2 separate regions of the Homo sapiens genome follow, and region 2 is linked to region 1. The links are contacts of gene promoters, found by promoter capture Hi-C in blood cells and fetal thymus (Javierre and others, 2016). All regions are on one chromosome and are shown on one strand. The core of a region is centred on a gene start or on the middle of the fragment in contact, and the rest is flanking DNA. Distances in the headings are between cores, read along the strand shown. Region 1 holds the start of ID3 (inhibitor of DNA binding 3). Region 2 overlaps STPG1 (sperm tail PG-rich repeat containing 1).

Region 1 (4,981 bases), core at 2,482-4,981:
AAAAAAAAGAGAGAGAGGGCAGAGTGGACAGAGAGTCAAATGAGAGGAGGTCTGGGTTCTGGCCATAGGCCAGCTACTGACATCCCAAGTAAACGTGAGCAAGTTTCTGAGGTCCCCATGATCCCCATGTCTGGGACATAAATGGGAAAAAGATGATAGATAGATAATAAATAGAGGCTCAGCTTAGACAAAAAGGCATCTGCAATCCTTGTCATCATTACTTTGACTTTGAAATCAACAATTTAGAGAGCCCACTACCACGAAATTAAAAAATTCTAAAATTTTTTAAAAAACAAAACAGTATAACTTAAAGAGTTCTGCCAACTTCTCAAAAAAAAAAAAATCAGAGAGCACAACATTGAATTTTTTTTTCTTTTTTTTATTTTGGCAGAGGAAGATTGAGTTCCTGGAAATGCTTACAAAATGATTCCTGACACTGGGAGGAGATAGTTAGAAAAAAGAAGAAGAAAAATTATACACATATATAGATAAAGGAAGAAGGTGGAAAGAAAGGGAATAGACAAAAGAAAATAAAGAACTAAAAGAGAAAGAAAAAAAAAGACTTTAAAGGGCCCCAATTGAAGCAACATTATCAAGTTCTCAGCATCTGCAATTCACAAGCCGCTCGCGGTTGGGGCGATGCAGACCCCGCCCCTTTCTCGGGTGTCCGGCGCTCATTGGTGGGGGAGGCAGTCGCCGGCCGGTGACTGCCCGAGGAAAGGTTGCCTGGGACACGCATCCCTGTGTGAACGCATGACGTCCCACCCTGGCGCCAGGCTGTCTGGGGCTGAGTCTTAGATCAACACAGCTGTGGGACCGGGACCCACAGCTGGGCAAAGGAGCGGATTCCTCAACAAAAAATAGGATTGTGAGAAAAGTTCTGAAACAAAAACAGCGCAGACAAAAGCCTTAATGACATCCTTTCATAAAAATAAAAAATGCAAGAGGGGGGAAAAAGCTGGTAAAAGGAGCAGAACTGGGAACAGAAAGTTCAGAGGCATTTGGAATAAGAGGCTGAGGCCCCACCACTGCTAAACAAGTTGCAGAAGGCCTGAGCTAGCCTGTCCAGTCTGCTGTGGGGAAAAAGAAGTCTCTTGGGTTTAAACACTATTCAGTGTTCCTAACCATAACCTGCTTCTTTCAGAATTAGAATCTTAGGCTAGAGAGGACCATTAAAGGGCACTTGCTTCCTCCCAACCTACCCACTATCTTTTTTTTTTTTTTTTTTTTAAAGAGAAAATGAAGCCCAGGAAGGGAGGAAATTCGTCCAAGGGCACACTGCAAATTATTGGCATGCACAGAACAGAATTTTGCTTGCTAATTCCACAGCATCCTTCTGCCTTATGTCACACAGCCCATGGGCATTTCAGCCTGGAAGCATCCTGGGAAATAATAAATGCGAAGGTGCTTTGCAAACCTAAATCACTATACAAGCCTGAGGCATCAGCTGCAGTAGTAGAGGAAGGAAAAGAAGGGAGGAGAATCTGGGTAGACTGAGCACCTTCCACACAACTGGCCCATGCTGGGTCCCCCAGGCAGTAAGAAGACTAAGATCAGATGGAGTGAACACATCAAGTGCTTTGCAGAGAAGAGGCATTCAATAATTATCGAATGAATGAATGAGTAGACCCAATTAGTTCCATTTTATAGATGGGAAAATAGAAGCACCCAGGATAACTCAGCCAAAGTCTACACAATTAGTTTAAACAAAAAAAGAAGAAGAAGAAGAAGAATGGGCATTTGCACAGAAATCTGCCTGGCCCGTGATTTTTCTAGAACCCTCTGGACTTGACCGTTTTGCCACAGAAGTCTGCAAGATAGGAAAAGAAGGATCTTCTCTTCGGTTATTCAGGAGTTCCTACAGCCATTATTTTGCCTTTCCTGACCAAATAGCTGGCACTTGACGGCTGTAGCATGTAAAGACTGACTTGCCCACTCACAGGTTTTCTTCCTCTTTTCTTACTGAAGAGCCTGTCCTTGAAAAAAACATTCCAGGAAGAAATCTTTCTTGGGCCACAGAGCCCTGTGGTTTGATGGAAAAGAACGAGGCTTCAAGACTGGCTCTGCTATTACTTGTAGTGTGACATTGGGCATGTCTTAAATGCCTTCCTTGGGCCCCTCAGCATCTTTCACCTACATATCCAAATTTCACACAACCTTGGACTTCTACAATTGGAAAGGATTTTAAATAATCACTTAGTACCATCGTCTATTTTACTCACAAGGCAATTAAAGCCAGAGTACCTGGGCTTGTTCAAGATTACATGACAAATTATTGTCAGGGCTAGCATGATGAACCCAGGGCTCTCAATTCCCAGTCAGTGTCCTTTTCAACCGTTTTGCGACTCTCTTTGGCTCTGAGCCCCCCTTGTCCTGTTAATCAGTGCCACACATTATCGAACTCTTGTTTCCTGTGTTAATCTTGTCTCCCCAAATTGTGAGATTCTTGAAAGCAGGAGCCACTGTTTTATGCGGAGGGACTCCATAAATATTCACCAATGATTCATTAGGAAAGCAACTATTGGGGGAATCCCACTTGGTCATTTCCAAAATGGAAAGCAGCATCTTGGAAGTGCAGGTCCCCAAATGTCTAGGGAGGTGACAAGAAGGCAAGCAAAGAATCAAAGAATACTGAGCACAGTGTCCTGTTGCAATACAGGACTTAGTTTGCCGGCCCTCTGGTTCCTTTCCTGGTCTTTCAGATGGAGCTGGAGCTACTTCAGCAGGGCTAAGAATAATCAAGTCCAGGTGGCCTGCCCTTCCATAGCAGAAAGGGACAGACAATAGAGCAATGAAATTACCACTGTTTTCTACACAGAGGTGTGTGGAAAGTGAAGAGAGGGGAAGTTAAGAAATTTGCTGACCCAATTGGGTGGGGGGGGGCTCTTAAAAAGGTTTATGTAGAAATTGTCCCATCTGTGCCTCCATATTTAAAACCTTGTCCAAAATTCTAATTGAACTCACAAAGCACAACTGTGCATATATTTAGTTCGTTATGGAGTTTATGGGGCAGAGGGTCCAGGCTCCTTTTTTCCCCATGCAAAAAGCATGGGCTCAAGCTTTCTTCTTTTCCCCTGTTGCTCAAATAAATAGTGTTCTTTGCTCAAACCCCCTTTCCCTCCTCCTTCTGCAATCTCAGCGCCTAGCGCAAATCTGTTTTCTTCATTGTAACCTCAGCTTCACCGCAATTAATTTTTTTTCCCTCTGGTCACAAGATAATTCCTGACGCCAGTGAGTCTGGAGGTCAGACGAACAGCAAATTGGGGAACAAGGCGGCACTAATTCCTTACAAGTTTCCCTTGAAAAATCTTTCGCTTAAAAAAAACGGGGGGTGGGGGGAGCTTCTTTGCTGTTCAGGGATTTATGACCTCGGAGGAGCTGTGGCTCGAACCAGTGTTGGGCTAAAGGCGGACTGGCAGGGGGCAGGGAAGCTCAAAGATCTGGGGTGCTGCCAGGAAAAAGCAAATTCTGGAAGTTAATGGTTTTGAGTGATTTTTAAATCCTTGCTGGCGGAGAGGCCCGCCTCTCCCCGGTATCAGCGCTTCCTCATTCTTTGAATCCGCGGCTCCGCGGTCTTCGGCGTCAGACCAGCCGGAGGAAGCCTGTTTGCAATTTAAGCGGGCTGTGAACGCCCAGGGCCGGCGGGGGCAGGGCCGAGGCGGGCCATTTTGAATAAAGAGGCGTGCCTTCCAGGCAGGCTCTATAAGTGACCGCCGCGGCGAGCGTGCGCGCGTTGCAGGTCACTGTAGCGGGACTTCTTTTGGTTTTCTTTCTCTTTGGGGCACCTCTGGACTCACTCCCCAGCATGAAGGCGCTGAGCCCGGTGCGCGGCTGCTACGAGGCGGTGTGCTGCCTGTCGGAACGCAGTCTGGCCATCGCCCGGGGCCGAGGGAAGGGCCCGGCAGCTGAGGAGCCGCTGAGCTTGCTGGACGACATGAACCACTGCTACTCCCGCCTGCGGGAACTGGTACCCGGAGTCCCGAGAGGCACTCAGCTTAGCCAGGTGGAAATCCTACAGCGCGTCATCGACTACATTCTCGACCTGCAGGTAGTCCTGGCCGAGCCAGCCCCTGGACCCCCTGATGGCCCCCACCTTCCCATCCAGGTAAGCCTCGAAGTCGGGACAGGGCTGAACACCCAGGCAAGGATGCTGCGGGACCCTCGGAGCTCCCGATTGCCTCGCGTAACTCTTCCCTCTTTTCCTCTAATCAGACAGCCGAGCTCACTCCGGAACTTGTCATCTCCAACGACAAAAGGAGCTTTTGCCACTGACTCGGCCGTGTCCTGACACCTCCAGGTGAGTATCTCCTCTCTTGGAGAGGGAGGTTTAAACGGCAAGTCCTGGAGTTGGCAGACGTTTTGAAAAATTGCCACTCACTCGGTTTAGGGAAACTGAGGCCAGAGAGGGACAAGTGACTTGCCCATGGTTGCATCAAATGAATGGCAGAGTCAGTTTCCATGTGATGTGCATTTAAGCCTTAAATGCGCCTGGGCCCTGCCCTCCCGCAGTGGCCGAGGGTCTGGCAAAGTAGACATGGGTCCGACTAAATACAAGTCTTTCTGTTCCATGTTGTATAGGGAGCTGTCTTCGGCAGCCCCCTCCCAGCTAGTGTCAATTCCAAGTAGGAGGGGTAGCGCAAGCTCCGCCTGTGGTCTTTGGCGCCAACTGGGTGGGGGCAGCGTGGGGCGCGGAGTTATCAGCTGGAGGTACAGACCAAGTTTCCTCCCTGGCGCCGGCCAGTCTGCGGACGGCCCCCGCCTCGGCACGCTCGGCGGAAACTGACTGCTCCTTGGTCTTCTTTCCTCCCCCGCCCAGAACGCAGGTGCTGGCGCCCGTTCTGCCTGGGACCCCGGGAACCTCTCCTGCCGGAAGCCGGACGGCAGGGATGGGCCCCAACTTCGCCCTGCCCACTTGACTTCACCAAATCCCTTCCTGGAGACTAAACCTGGTGCTCAGGAGCGAAGGACTGTGAACTTGTGG
Region 2 (4,981 bases), core at 2,482-4,981, 830 kb before region 1:
TTGTAGTATTTTCCTAGTGGTTACCTTAAAGCAACAGTTGGCAAACTTTGCTCCTTGGACCAAATCTGACCCACTGCCTATTTCTATTAATAAAGTTTTATTGGAACACGGCCACCCCAGTTTGTTTATGTATTGTCTGTGGCTGCTTTTACTCCATAATGGCAGCACTGAATAGTTGCCACAGAGAATAAATAGACTGCAAAGACTAAAATATTTACTATCTAGCCAGGCATGGTGGCTCACACTTGCAATCCCAGAACTTTGGGAGGCTGAGGCAGGAGGATTGCTTAAGCCCAGGAGGTCAAGGCTGCAATGAACTATGACTGCACCACTGCACTCCAACCTGGGCAACAGAGCAAGACCCTGTCTCAAAATATAGATCAATAAGATAGATAGATGATAGATAGATAGATAGATAGATAGATAGCTATAGATGGATAGATAGATAGACAGATATGTACTATCTGGCCCTTAGAAAAAGTTCGTTGATCCCTACATACTTTAGAGTTTATAGTATATATCTTTAACTTATCATGGTCTACCATCAAGTGATATTATAACACTTCACATATAGTAGAAGAACCTTAAAACAGTATATTTTTATTTTTCCCTTCCTGGCCTTTATGTTATTGTTGTTAAACATTTTACTTGTACATATGGTATAAACCCTACAAAACAGTTGTTATTTTTGCTTTACATAAATTTTTTTTTTTTTGAGATGGAGCCTTGCTGTGTCGCTCAGGCTGGGGTGCAGTGGCGCAGTCTTGGCTCACTGTAACCTACACCTCCTGGGTTCAAGCAATTCTCCTGATTCAGCCTCCTGAATAGCTGGGATTACAGGCACCTGCCACCATGCCTGGCTAATTTGGTGAGGAGGCCTCCCAAAGTGCTGGATTACAGGCTACCACACCCGGCCAGTAATCATTACTTTTTAAATGTTTAAAATGTTATATTTAAATTATTCAAGGCTGGGTTTGGTGGCTCATGCCTGTAATCCCAGCACTTTGAGAAGCCGGGGCGGGCAGATCATGAGGTCAGGAGATCGAGACCATCCTGGCTAACACGGTGAAACCCCGTCTCTACTAAAAATACAAAAAATTAGCCGGGCGCGGTGGCGGGCGCCTGTAGTCCCAGCTACTCGGGAGGCTGAGGCAGGAGAATGGCGTGAACCCGGGAGGCAGAGCTTGCAGTGAGCCGAGATAGCGCCATTGCACTCCAGCCTGGGCGCAAGAACGAGACTCCGTCTAAAAAAAAAAAAAAAAAAAAAAATTGTTCAATTTATACTCATAATTTTATATTTTCTATTTACCCACATATTTACTATTTCCAGAGCTTCATTCCTTTATGTGATTCAGATTTCCTACTGGTATCATTTTCTTTGGCCTGAAGGGCTTCCCTTAACATTTCTTGTAGCTCCCATTTGCTGATGATTCTTTCAATATTTATATAGTTTTAAAAGTTTTTATTCTGCTTTTGCTTTTGAAGATATTTTTACTGAGTACAGGATTCTAGGGTGACAGGTTTTTTTTTTCCTTTTATTGCCTTAAAGGTGTTGTTTTCAGTATCAATCTGCTGTCATTCTCGTATTTGTTTCTTCATATGTGACATGTCTTTTTTCTCTGCCCAATTTTAACATTTTCTTCTTATCACTTTTTAAGCAATTTGATTATGGTTGGCCTACGGTGTCATTTTCTTCATGTTTCTTGTATTTGATGTTAAGTGACTTTCTTGAATCTGTGAGTCAATAGTTTTTTTAATCAAATTTGGAAAAATTTCAACCATTTTTTCTTGAACTATTTTTTTCTATTTCTTCTCTCCTCATATTTCTTTTTTTGAGAGCCTGATTACATATATATTAGGCTCCTCAAAGTTTCCACACAGCTCACTAATCCTTTTTCTTGTCCTTTTTCTGTTTTATTTTGTATAGTTTTATTTCTAGGTCTTCAAGTTTACTAATCTTTTTTTCCTCTAATGTCTAATTTGCTATTCATCTCATCTAGTGTATTTTTAATCTCAGACATTTAGTTTTCACATCTGGTAGTTCGATTTGGATCTTGTCATTATATCTTCCATATCTACTTAATATGTTCAGTCTTTTCTCTGGCTTCTTGAACATATGAAATACAGTTAGTGCAGCAGTTATAATGTTCTTCTCCACTAATTCTATCATCTGTATCATTTCTGAGTTGGTTTTGATCATTTATTTTCTCCCCACTTTGAAGTATATTTTTCCTTCTTCCTCCTATTAATTTTTTATCAATGCCAGGTATTTTGAATTTTACCTCTTAGGTGCTATTTTTGTAGTCCCATAAATATTCTTGTGCTTTGTTCTGAGATGCAGTTAAATTATTTGGAGACAGTTTGATCTTTTCAGGTCCTGCTTTAAAGCTTTGTTAGCTGGAACCAGAGCAGTATTTAGTCTAGGGGTAATTTTGCCCCATTTCTGAGGCGAAACCCTCCTGCATACTCTATGTTCCATGAATTATGAGGTTTTCCCGCTGTGACTCATGAAAACAGGAGCTATTCCCGGCCCTGTGGAAGCCTCAGGGATTGCTCACTTGAATTCTGCCAGGCGGTTCCTTCTCCAGCCCTGGGTAGTTTTCTCATGCCATGTGTTGGTCAATACCCAGGAACTTACTCAGGGGACCCCGTTGCAGAGCTCCATAGCTCTCCATCTGGGTAGCTCTCTCTTCTCTGGTACTCTGCTCTGTGAACTTAGCTGTCTTGGTCTTTCTGGACTCCCAGATCTATTTCCTCAACTCAGGAAGACCACGGGGCTCCATCTGGATCCCTTCTTCCTGTGCTGTGGTCTTGAGATTTTCTCCTGGCAGAAAGCTGGGGACCATCTTATTGCCAACCTCATTTACTTTGCTTCTCTCAGGGATCCCTGTCCTTTGTTGCCTGATGTCCAGTATCTTGATTGCTTTATATATCTTGCCCATTTTTAACTTTTTTTTTCCAGCTGGGAGGGCAAATCTAGTCCTGTTTTGGTAAGAAATAGGAGTTCAGTCATCCAGAGTGTTTTTCAAAAATTCTACTTTTTAAATTGTTTCATCAAGAGGGCTGCTCTGACACATGCATTTCTGTTATAGCCAGAAGCCTTGGATCTCCTTTCCAGTCAGGCAGAAACCTCTCCTTTCCCCAGGAGAATGTCCTTCCTTTAACCTTTTTTAAATAACTCTCTTTTTACTGCCTCCTCTGCACACTCTCTTAGCTGTTCTATAGGCTTAGGCTTTTAGAAACAAAAGCCAGGAAGTCTTGCAGCTGCTTCTGCCTTTTGATTTGCTGTATAGCTCTCTTAAAGCAAACAAACCAAAAACATAGCCATTCATCTACTTAAATGGGGAGGGGAGGAGAAGAATACATTTACTGTATATTGGTATCCCCAAATATTTTCTACTTAAACACGTATTCAGCTCCTTTTACTTGCTTCATCCTCCACCCAGGCAGATTAGGCTTCAGTGTCCCTCTCCCCATCGTGTTTATTGAGCACTTACTAGAGGCCAGCTCAGGAAGAGGAAGCACAGCTCAGAGCTCAAGAGCCTGGACTCATTAGGCAAATCATGTTCACACCCTACCTGTTCCGCTTAAGTGCTGGGTGATTCGGATGAGTAACTTAATCCCTCTAAGCCTCAGTTTCCTCAACTGTGAAGCTGGTTCATGATTGTACCCCTTGAGGGGTCCCTGTTGTCTTCAGGCTTCCTGCTCTGAAAAGGAGTATTGTTTTTTAAAAAAATTCAGAGATGAAGAAATGAGCCTTACTGATAGTTTCCATACAAACCACCCTCTGTCATGGCTAACACATACTTTCTTCTTTCCTTCTCTTGACTGTTTTTTTTCCCCCATTTCTGCGCGTATTTCCTCTCTGAAGGTTAGGATTCTGATGTTAAAATAATTTGGCTTACTGTTGTGAACAGCCTACAGAGTCAGGATGCACCCCCCCACCCAAAATTTGGTTTGGATGTCAAGACTTACGGTGCCACACACACGCTCATGAAGAGTGTAGGAAAAGGCTTATCACCCACATAGTGAGGCCTTCTGAGGACAGCAGCACAGCCTTCCTAACCTGATCCAATAATGGCTTGAGAGAGCAGGGAAAGGAGCCTGGCTTGGGGGTTTTCTTATGGTTGGAAAGCGAGGCTGGACTGAGGGCAGGGGTCTGCGTGGTTTGAACTTCCAGCTGGTGCCACAGGAGGGAGCTCTGGGCTTTCTCATCCGCTTGCCCAGTGGTAGGGCAGAAGGGAATGAGGGAGTGGTGAAGCTGAAGAGCTATCAGCCATCAAACATCAAAAAACTGGAGTCAGAGTCCATTACACTTACAGGTTAGAGTCTATAATCAACCTGCTATGCAGACAGATGCTGCCAAGTTCTAGCAGTTGTGGAAGTCTCAGCAGGAGGGGAGTTTATACATCAGACATGCATGTATACATCGCAGCCTAGACAAAGGAACTTTTAACTTCAGTTTCTATAGATGATCCCTTTCTGCTTTTTAACCCCATGTCTGCTCAAAACAGAAACGAAAACTTACACCTGTCTTGCACAGTGCCCTGAAAAGTGAGAGCCAGCCCCAGGCTGGGATTTCCCTAACCTCTTTGGATTTTAACGGCCTAATGCTGGTGTCTGAATCTAGGCCAAGGAGCAGTGAGGACGCTTCCTCTGTCCTGACCGCGCCTCGTCCAGGCTGCTCCCAGAATAGTTTTGCTGTCTCCTTCCTGCCTGGCAAGAATGTCTTTACTATCATCTCCTTCCTTTTCTCCGGGACAGCCTGTTTAAGGTACTTTATGTGACCACATCTCACTAATTTAAGAGCTGGAGGGGGGAAGTCCGATAAATTGCCGAGAGGGAAAGAAAGTGGGGAATTTTTTTTTTAATCCGGTTTCGTGTCTGTTTCCTGTCAAAAGGCAAGTTTCTCTTCTCTACCATTTAAAATAAAACTTTAATATACACCTTTGTGTTTTCCACATTTGTCAATCATTGTTTT

What was found. Contacts are between HindIII fragments. The CHiCAGO score rates a contact against its expected background, and 5 or more counts as called.
Region 2: a fragment that was not itself captured here is called in contact with the fragment with the promoter of ID3 in region 1 in 1 of 17 cell types (neutrophils); the score reaches 5.1 in neutrophils.

Annotation. Positions count from the first base shown.
Region 1 is chr1:23,558,251-23,563,231 of GRCh38, reverse strand. It overlaps ID3 (inhibitor of DNA binding 3), which reads left to right and starts at 3,731. Exons shown (of 3, transcript NM_002167.5): 1 at 3,731-4,105; 2 at 4,213-4,297; 3 at 4,817-4,981. The coding sequence starts at 3,806. The coding sequence ends at 4,272. The region is part of intron 2 of LOC124903876 (a long non-coding RNA gene); the gene reads right to left. RefSeq lists silencers at 3,418-3,664, 3,532-3,791 and an enhancer at 4,732-4,861. The HindIII fragment of the contact is 2,494 bases long and covers 3,062-4,981 here.
Region 2 is chr1:24,391,717-24,396,697 of GRCh38, reverse strand. All of the region lies in intron 2 of STPG1 (sperm tail PG-rich repeat containing 1), which reads left to right. Among named protein-coding and RNA genes, the nearest start is that of STPG1, 20 kb to the left of the region's middle. RefSeq lists an enhancer at 4,391-4,640. The HindIII fragment of the contact is 2,681 bases long and covers 2,391-4,981 here.